Linked DNA regions of Homo sapiens: all the other regions are linked to region 1. Evidence: promoter capture Hi-C in 16 types of primary human blood cells and fetal thymus (Javierre and others, 2016). All regions are on one chromosome and are shown on one strand. The core of a region is centred on a gene start or on the middle of the fragment in contact, and the rest is flanking DNA. Distances in the headings are between cores, read along the strand shown.

Evidence for each region. Contacts are between HindIII fragments. The CHiCAGO score rates a contact against its expected background, and 5 or more counts as called.
Region 2: a contact is called between a fragment that was not itself captured here and the fragment with the promoter of IFIT1B in region 1, in 2 of 17 cell types (M0 macrophages and megakaryocytes). The highest score is 6.0, in M0 macrophages.
Region 3: a contact is called between a fragment that was not itself captured here and the fragment with the promoter of IFIT1B in region 1, in 11 of 17 cell types (megakaryocytes, neutrophils, endothelial precursors and 8 more). The highest score is 10.2, in megakaryocytes.

Annotation. Positions count from the first base shown.
Region 1 is chr10:89,376,508-89,379,715 of GRCh38, forward strand. IFIT1B (interferon induced protein with tetratricopeptide repeats 1B) reads left to right here and starts at 1,549. Exons shown (of 2, transcript NM_001010987.2): 1 at 1,549-1,633. The coding sequence starts at 1,629. It also overlaps a transcript of LIPA not described here. The HindIII fragment of the contact is 6,433 bases long and covers 1-3,208 here.
Region 2 is chr10:89,214,472-89,217,679 of GRCh38, forward strand. LIPA (lipase A, lysosomal acid type) reads right to left here. Exons shown (of 10, transcript NM_000235.4): 9 at 1,467-1,538; 10 at 1-590. The coding sequence ends at 357. Among named protein-coding and RNA genes, the nearest start is that of CH25H, 8.8 kb to the left of the region's middle. The HindIII fragment of the contact is 560 bases long and covers 1,307-1,866 here.
Region 3 is chr10:89,241,541-89,244,748 of GRCh38, forward strand. The region is part of intron 3 of LIPA (lipase A, lysosomal acid type); the gene reads right to left. Among named protein-coding and RNA genes, the nearest start is that of LIPA, 8.6 kb to the right of the region's middle. The HindIII fragment of the contact is 1,701 bases long and covers 880-2,580 here.

The DNA.
Region 1 (3,208 bases), core at 299-2,798:
GCAGTAACTCAGAAGTTCCCTGAAAAGAAAGAGAAGAGCTGCCCCAGACATCTGAGAGCATCATTAACACCTGTGACCATGATGGGTCAAGACAAAATACAAGGCCACTCTGTAATCAGGTCTGAGTGCAGACAAAAATACGAATATTTTCCAACTGGATTCGAAAATAATCAAGCAGCCCCTTAAACTGGCCAATATGAATGACTGCTGCTTCCTTTCAAATTACACCTGTCACCTTGGTCTAGTCTTCTCTTTTTCCAGACACAATTTAAGATACCCAATTATAGAATCATTTCTGCTTCCTGACAGCCTCCCATCCCATGCCCATGACCACACCTTACCACATGGGAGCCTGGGAAATATAGTCTAGTTACAGGCCCAGGACAAAGAAGAAATAGCACAGCGAGGCTACAGTTTCATTTGGTAATTATGAGAAGACTGTAATGAAGTTAATAACCCTACCTTGAAATGCTCACTCAGAGGGAAATCGCTCTCAGTCTTTGCCCTTTTGCTTATCTTGGTGCACTACCCCTACAAAACCAAGATCCAGAAACGTACAGGATGACATTGTAACAATTCACAAGAGGAATTCAGAATAGCAGCTTTCCAAATTTTCCTTTTTCTCTGCTAATTGTGTGGGCAATTACATCAGCCTTGGGATCATATAAATTTTTCATTAAACATGTGAACATTGTTTGATTGACTCTCTGATGGTTGTTGCTTTGTAACAGATAATCTTCAAAATAGTAGAAACAGAAGAAACATAAGGACAACTCAGAAGAACTATGTGAATTTGGATTTAGATTTTTAACCCCCATGACCCCATCACATTCTCTGACTACATTGCATATGTTTCTCTACTGACCAGCTCAAACATTGTTGTTTGAACCACTAATGGTGAACAGTAAAGATCATCAAAACAGTCAATATGCTTGAATAGGCTCCACTATAGCCAGGGTTGGCAGTAATGCAAATGCTGCTGGAGGATGTAACCAGTATGGGACCCTTCTTATAGACCAATATCTCAAAATTGAGGAGTTGTTTTGCCTAACACAGCCCCACAGAAGAAGACCTAACCATCTGCAACCTCATTCTTCCACAAATTGACAATGACTTTCTACAGTATTCTTTTAGGCACAAACCACTGACCCTGGTCTAAGGAGCTTCCATTGTAGACGTCCCTGGAACCACCTGGCGGGATACATGTGATAGTAACAAGTTTGACAACAGAGTCTGACATGATTCACAAAAATATACGTTCCTGTCTGCCACTGGTTTTTCCACAACACTGAATGTCATCATAAAGTCCAGTTACCCTCTATCTCCTACACCACATTGACTCCAGCAAGGGAATTTGCGTATCAAAACTGCTTCTCACACACCCATCCTCTTAGCTGCCAAAACTCAGCATGTATTTGTAATCAAAGCAGAGACAGCCCTATTCCTCTGTATCATTTTCACCCTGCCAATTCACTAGGCATCAAGGGTGTAAAAAACTGCCTGGATATACCTCCCATATATAAGCACCATGCTTATCTGAGAAGCCCTAGAACTCTGTGGATGAACCTTGAAGGAGCCTCCAAGCCTGAACCAAAGCACTACAGATCACCTGCTATCTTCATAGCACCATGAGGTAAAGTCTTTCTCTGCTTCACTGACCTTATTTCTGCACACTTTGAAATTCTAAAACTTTCCTTAAGGGCCAATTTTTTGACAGGCCTTCTCCTAAGGGAGCTGTCCCACTGGTGGTTCTGACCCTGATAGGCACCCTCAACATGATAACCAAGAAGAGTTTAATAAGGGGGCTATTTAAGACGATATGGGCAAAGTTTAGGGAAATCAACAGGAAATGGTGCTTGTTGGTTGCAGGGCAGCGGGAAGAGGCGTGTTGGTTTACAACAGTGGTAACATGATAACCCTGGGCCTACAGGAGCAAGAGGAGAGAACCAGACCCAAGGAGACTCTAAGCTATAGCTGTAGGGGAGGGGCTTCTCAAGAGGCCTTTGGTGAAAAAATCACTGACAACCTCAAGCAGAGCACAGTGGGAGCTTAGGAATTAATTCCATGACCTTCACCTCCTCCTGCAATTTAATATCTGGCTGGTGCTCCCCAGTGGGCCAACCCCAGTAGAAAGTAAAAAATAAAAGAGTTTTGGAGTTAATAAAGTCCATAGAGTCAGCTTCCAAGCACAGAGCATGGTGAAGAATGTAGGAAAGTAGATTCAGAGGGGCAAGATGAGAATATATGTAGAGGCAAGTTTCCTAACTCCTGTTACAGAGCTCGCTTAGTAAGGGTAGCTGGCTTAATAAAAGCAGCAATGCTCTTAAGGAAATAAACGAGAAAGCAATCTTATTTCCAAAGATGTCATTTCTGTAGCACTTTCTAATAGAGGGACAATTACCCAGGCAACACTTAAAGACTGTTCACCAGGGAACAGAGGCCTGAGCCTAGAGAGGAGACTGGCCCGGGGACCAGTCAGGGCAAGAGCATTGAGATCCTTTTAATATACAAAATACTCTTTTAGGCATCCAGGTGAGAAGAAGCAGCTATTTTTATTTGATAAATTGGTTAAATTCACGTGGGAAAAAGAAGCTACTTTCAGAGATGGCTGTTTTTCTGTTGTTTGTTTGTTTTTGATACCAAGTCAAATTTTGTGATTACTGTGAAACTATGAAATTGTGATTACTATGAAATTTGCTTTTCACTGAATTAACTGTTCTCAAAGTGTGGTCCCCTGACTAGCAACATCAGCATCACTTGGGAAGGTAGCAGAAATGCAAATTCTCAGGCCCTACCCTAAACCTGCTGACTCAGAAACTCTAGGGTGGGGCCCATCAATCTGTGTGTTATAAGTTTTCCAGGTGATCATGTTGCCTGCTAAAATTTGAAAAACCATTATACTAGATGTTAGAAAATAAGAAATTTTGTAGGCATTGTGATATGTTTGTTCCACAAAATATATATTTCTTTTTTTCCTGGTGTAGTTAGAACTGGTGACCTGCAGAAAATGCTTTCACTCAAAAGTATTCTGACCTGCTAGAGTTCTCCCATCTGATGTTGCAGTCAGTGGGAGAGGAAGAACTTTACAGAAAAAGGGGCTGCTCTTTTGAGATCCCTTTCTAGCAAACATGTAGACCTGTCTTGAGAAGAAATTATAAATGAAGGATTGCAAAAAAATTCACCACAAGAGTACCCAAGTCTCTCTTTT
Region 2 (3,208 bases), core at 337-2,836, 160 kb before region 1:
TTCCAACACATATATTACTTTGTCCTATGAAGGGCAAAAAGTCAATATATTTTAAATTTTAAAAACAGAATGGATATAATGACCTTTTTACACATCAGTGATATTTAAAAGACTTAAAGAGACAATACTATGGTTGAGACACTGGCTTCCTATTCCAGCCCTAATTAAAGAAAAAATAGCTAGTATGTTTCTAATTGAAACTAGAGTGAACTGGGCATCTTCAAAGTTATCATTTTCTTGGATATAAAAAAACAAAAGACCTGGGAAAGAAAAACAAGTGTTTTACAGAAATGAAGCAAACACATTTTCACATGACATAATCATTGACTTGGTGGTACACAGCTCAAGTCCAGCTTTCACTGATATTTCCTCATTAGATTAATAATTTTATTATAAAGCCTCCAAGGGGCATCCAGGCCCCAAATGAAGTCAAGATGCTCCCATTCCGGAATGCTCTCATGGAACACCAAGTTGGTGATCTGAGTCAGTAAGATATTGACGTCGTAGACATCTGCAAGCCAGTCGTGACCCCCGCTCCAGACTGCAGTCGGCACAAGCATGTCCTTCACATTGTATGTGGGAGGATAACTCTACAATGAAAAGGAACCAGAGAAAGCCTCGTTGTTGTTGTTGTTTTAATTTTCAAAATCACAATAAGCGCAATCTCCATTAAACATTGTCTAGTAAGTTTGACTAACAGACTAAATTTTTAAAATCTCTTTGAGTATCTTTTCAAGTTGCCATTACCGGCACAAAAAAAGAAATCTAACCCCAAATGAGAGAATGCTAATTATAATCGCCACTAGCTGTGGAGCTGCTGCCGTAGGCTGGGCACCAAAATGAATGTTTAATCCCCGGCAAGGAAGGTGTTGTACTCCATAGGTAGTACACTCAAGGCAATAGTGGCTGGAAAGAGTTTGGGGTCATGCCCTCCTACTTCTTCCCTTTGGGTGTAAGACAAGTCACAGAAATTCTCTAAGCCTCACTGTCCTCATGTTTAAGTCAGAGATAATCACGTTTACATCACAGAGATGCTCTGGGAATTAAATTTAAAAAACAGAGCAAAGTGCCTCACACTTCAGTGCATTTAGCATGCTCAAAAATGCTAATTTTATTAGTGCAGGGAAGAGGCTTAAGCAATGTAATCTGGCCAAGGCCCCATAGCTACCAGATAACAGACATAGGACTGTCTGACTCTACAGGCTATGTTCGTGATTACTCTGAGTAATGCATAACAGTGATGATTCTTATTTAGAGCTGGGGAAAGGACAAAGAGAGGAGGCCCAGTCCACAACACCAGCTACAAAGCTTGGATTGTTCTGAATGGACTGATGGAAAACAAACACTAGTCAACTCCTGCAAACATTTCCCACAGCACCTGAGCCTGGCCAGAATCCTGATAGGCCAGGCTGGCTTTCTTGATGAGTTTTCAGGGCCCCCTTTAATGAAAAGACTAAAAACTTTACCTGGTTGTAATGAAAATAATTCTTGGCACTGCTTCCCCAGTCAAAGGCTTGAAACTTTTGGAATTTAACAGCCTAAAAAGAAGATAATTTGGAAAAGAGTTATCTGACACCAAAGTTAGAGATAACATCATAGGTTGCTGGAGCTAGCCACAACCTCGGAAATCAACTTTATACCAATATCCAGATTTACTCTTCATTTCCAAGGCATTATTTTAAATGAGATGGCATGGTTTTGTCCTGCTTTACTGAATGACTCAATTTCTCATTGTATGATTGTTAAGCAGCTACCACCTGACACAAGAAAGCAGCTATGCACATATGCTGTCAATTATACTAGATCAACAGTTGCTCCTGCTAGCGGAACTTTATGCTGACATTTTCTGCTGAAATTTGCATCCTAAGCTTTTTCAAAGAGTTAGTCATTTTACTTGGGAAATAAAGGTAGACAGATAGGTAGCTACATATATATATACATATATATATATATAATAGAGAGAGAGAGAGAGAGATGGATATATATAGATAAAATAATTATAATATACAATTGGCCCTCCATATCCAGTTTTGTATCTGTGGATTCAGCCAAGTGATATTTTGCAGATGGAAAATATTTGGAAAAAAACAATAAAAGATAATAAAACAATAAAAAATACAAATTTTAAAACAGTGTAACACCTACTTACATAGCGTTTACATTGTATTAAGCATCATAAGTAATCTAGAGATGATTTAAAGCATATGAAAGGATATGCATAGGCTATATGCAAATACTACATCATTTTATATAAGGGACTTGAGTATCTGTGAATTTTGGTTTGGGGATGATGTCTGCAGCCAGTCCCCAAAGATACTTGAGGGATGACTGTATATTTTCTATTTACCCATTCTACTTGTCTAGTTATATTAGTCAAATTTTAATGATGGTATTGATTAAACACTTTTTCTTGAGTACTGGTATCAGTATAATCACCAAGTAGTACTGCATGCCAGCACAATTCTAACTAGTTAGGGATACTAGAGCCATGAAATTGAAATTGTATTGAAATTTACATTTATTCATATTTAAAATAGTATAATATAAAATATTAGCAAAATGTCACTTATTTTTAAAATTCAAAATAGTGCAAATCCATATTTCCTCTACACTCTCAAATTAAATGTATGTCAAAAATTAAACACAAAATTGGCAAGCCAAATGAATTTGAAATGGTAAGTTTTGGCCACAAGGTGGCGCCTGGTAAAAAGAAATGCTCAGACATTCTTTGTCAAAACTGCTTTTGATTTATGTGAAGTCTGTTCTAATCAACTGCATACAATTCTACTGTTTGATGTAATAAAAGACAGAGTGAGATGATATACTATAGGGGATTGTTACAGGAGAAATATTTGGCATCTGTTTTTGCCGTTGCAAATGACTGATATTAAATACCTGTGGCATATTTAACAAGCAAAACAAAATTTGGATTCACAGCACCTGTTGGTACATCTGTTCCCCATCTTTGTCAGTGAAAATATATTGATGCAAACTATTCTGCCACTGAACACAGACAGCAGTTCATCACTTTGTCACATGTCCTTCAGCATTCATATGAAGCACCAGCGTGAGCACAGAATACAAAGGTGAAACTTGCCTATAGCTCAGACTGAAGTTCTAAATTTGACTTTGTGCTAAGTCACTTAGGACTTCAAGCTATCCACTTGAAAGGATATTTCAAAAGAAAAGTATTAAGATGATTTCCAGT
Region 3 (3,208 bases), core at 480-2,979, 130 kb before region 1:
TAAAATAAACAATCAAAGCAAAATACAAGCTGATGGTCTCCTTCTAAAGACTTAACTCACAAGCCACGCTGTGAATTTTCAGCTATGACTCTAATAGCTCAATGGACAACCCCTGGGGAATCTTTGCTGAGGCCACAGTTGAAAAGCCTGTTTCTGCATGCTGAAGGCAGTCATTCCAGGCTTTCACAGTCTAGAGTGCCACTTCACCCACTCGGCAATCAGATGCATAACTTTCAGATACAAATGTGCCACTCTTGGTGTGTGTATATATATATAAAATATATATTGTGCCTATCATGGCATCAACTTGGTTAATATTTATTATGTAAGGCCACATTCTCCAGTTCAAAGATCACTGAATCTGTAGTCAGACAGGTCAGGACATGACCCTCTGCCCTGAGACAAATTCATTTCCCTATTTGAACCTGGCTGTCTTATCCAACAAAATGAGGATGTTAGTCTAGAACACAGGTTGCCAAAACCAAGAATTCTACCTTGGAATCCACCAGTGAAGTGTGTTTAAAAAAAAACAAAAATCCCTAGCCCAGGCAGGAATCTGAGATCCCTCCAGTGCTAACTCCCCATGACTTTCTGAAATAAGGCTGAGCAGATGAAAACAGAGCCACTTCCCTATGAAGTGTAATTTCTGAATTTCAATTCCCTTCAGGAGCAAAGCATTGCTCAACACTTCCTAAGAAGGTTGCTTAATGGTGGGAAACAGCATGCACATACTGCACGAGTAGCCAAGGGCTACTACTGTGCAGAATGGAGGTGAAAGGTACAAATACCAGCTGGACAGAATATTTAAGGAACAGTGTGTATCTTCATTTCTGAGACCCCTAAAGATTGCTGAATGGCAATTTCACATCATTATAGCTAAGCTTTAAGAAACTTAATCCTGCAAAACCACATAGGATGAATGAGAACAGGAAGCCTGGCAGAGAAAAGAGCAGTTAGGTAAAGCCTTTAAGCAAACATGAGCAGAGAAGCCATGTGGCCAAGCCCTGTGTTCATAAAAAAAACCTGATCTCCAAGTGAGGCTACACAGTCAGTCAAAGAGGCCCATGGCAACAGGACTGAAAGATGCTCACCATTCAGCTGTAGACTCAGGTTCCACAAGGAATGTGGTACCAAAAAATGAATAATGTTTTAATACATTTTGTAATTACTTGTAAATAGTATGAATGTATAGCAGTATTTTTGTGTGTATTAAAAGCATTAATTTCTTAAACTATATAAGCAAACTGAATTTCCATAATCCTGTCTTGAAATTCTTTCTTTCTGTTAGTATACGAGGAGCCTTGAAAATGGAAATGGCTCAAGACTCTCTCAGCTGCTGAGCTTATTTCAGGCGCCCAGTTAAGTGGTAACAAGAGCCTAATGTAGGCTGGTGGTCAGGGAAACAGAAGAAAAAGATGAACTGAAGCAATTTAACGTGGGTGGCCTAGAGAGGACCCGTGGTCAAGAATGATTCTGCAGATTCCAGGCTAGGTCATTAGGAGGATGCTGGTGCTATTAATAATAGAGGAGGAAGTCAGGAGGGGAAGCGGGATGCATGAGAAGAGGACGCGTTTCACTTTGGGTGTGAAAGGCCTTCTCCATTCTTTTTATCTATTTGCCTTTAAACACCGGAAATAACACCAGTGGCAACAACCTTGCTCTTGAATAGGAGTGAAGGACAGTAAAGAGCCTCTGTCCATGCTCTGTTTTAGAATGTGGAAATGCAAACCATCAGGAAAGCGCCTATGCAGTTCTTAGGAAAATCACAATTCCTTTAGAGAACTGAGTTGTTCACTGTAGACTTCCTTGAAGACTCCCCACTGAGGTTAGCTCATAGCAGGTATGACATACACATCAGTGATCCCCTACAGGGAGGGCCTCTCAGAATAGAGAAAGAACATGAGGACCAAATGCTATGAACAGATTTAGCTTAGAGTAAATACTTTCAGTCTATATTCCCCCATTCTAAAGACCTAGACTCTCCACTCTCCCAATCCCCAACCCTCTTGCCAAAAATAAAATAAAGTATATATAATATATCCCACAGAGGTTAAAAAAAAAAAAGAAAAAACAAAGCACACAAGAAGTCAGGGGCAAACCCAGGTGTAGCACCAAGGTCCCATAAGTCTCCTTTCTATTACCTGGGAGCATATCAAGACTCATGCTCACTTTCTTCATATTCCAGGGCACTGCACCTTCCCCTGCAACAGTGTGATACACACAGGTAGGGCATGTGACTCTGAGTGTTTTAACCACTGTATGGAGAGAGAAGTCTGAAGCTGGATATAGGAGGAGAGCTCTCAGCAAGTTTTACTGAGATGCTTACCATCATTTAACAGTGATTCACGTTACTAATTAATCAACTATAATTTTAAGAAAAATAATATAAAGCATTTTTCTTTATACAGTGTCTGAAATCAGTATACAGGGGTTATTCTTTGGGGGAAAAAAAAGGAAGGAAACCAAGATCATATGCTCGCTCTAGCATAAAATATATGTTTTGAGTGTTTTGAGCACAGGAAAAACTAAAAGCTCTCACTATAACTCATCACTCATTTTATAACATATTTATAAAAAGGAAGCTTAATGGCATATATCTGTAAAGCATAAAAATCTCAAGAGTTAGAAATCAAATTTCAAAAAAAATGGTTGTCGTGGCCACCTAAACATTATTAAAATCTTATTACAGCTAGAACACATGGAAGAAAAAAGTTAAACTAGGATAAATTAAGAAAAAACAAAGCAAATAATAATACAATGCTCACATTAACACAAAGGGTGTTTAAGTTTGCTTTGAATAACAATTTGGGCAGGAATTGAGGCAAAGGTGGCTCTTTTGCCCGTATAACACTTAAATTGAAGAATAAATAGCTATCTAACTACCTTAATCTAAACCTTAATTTCCCCAAGAAAAGTCTCCAGAAACAAAAAAATGTTAGAGAATAAGCTACATCTTACTTGAACCTGGGAGGCGGAGGTTGCAGTGAGCCAAGATTGCACCATTGCATTCCAGCCTGGGCAACAAGACCGAAAATCCGTCTCAAAAAAATAAATAAATAAATAAGCTACATCTGGAGAGATAATTGAATAAAGATTAGATCCTTCTTCTGATAACTGCTTAATAATTTCAATCAGTCTGTCTAGAAATTCCTTTATCTGCACTGGAAACTGCAGTTTTGCTTGAGTTATAAAATGAGAGAGAGAAAAA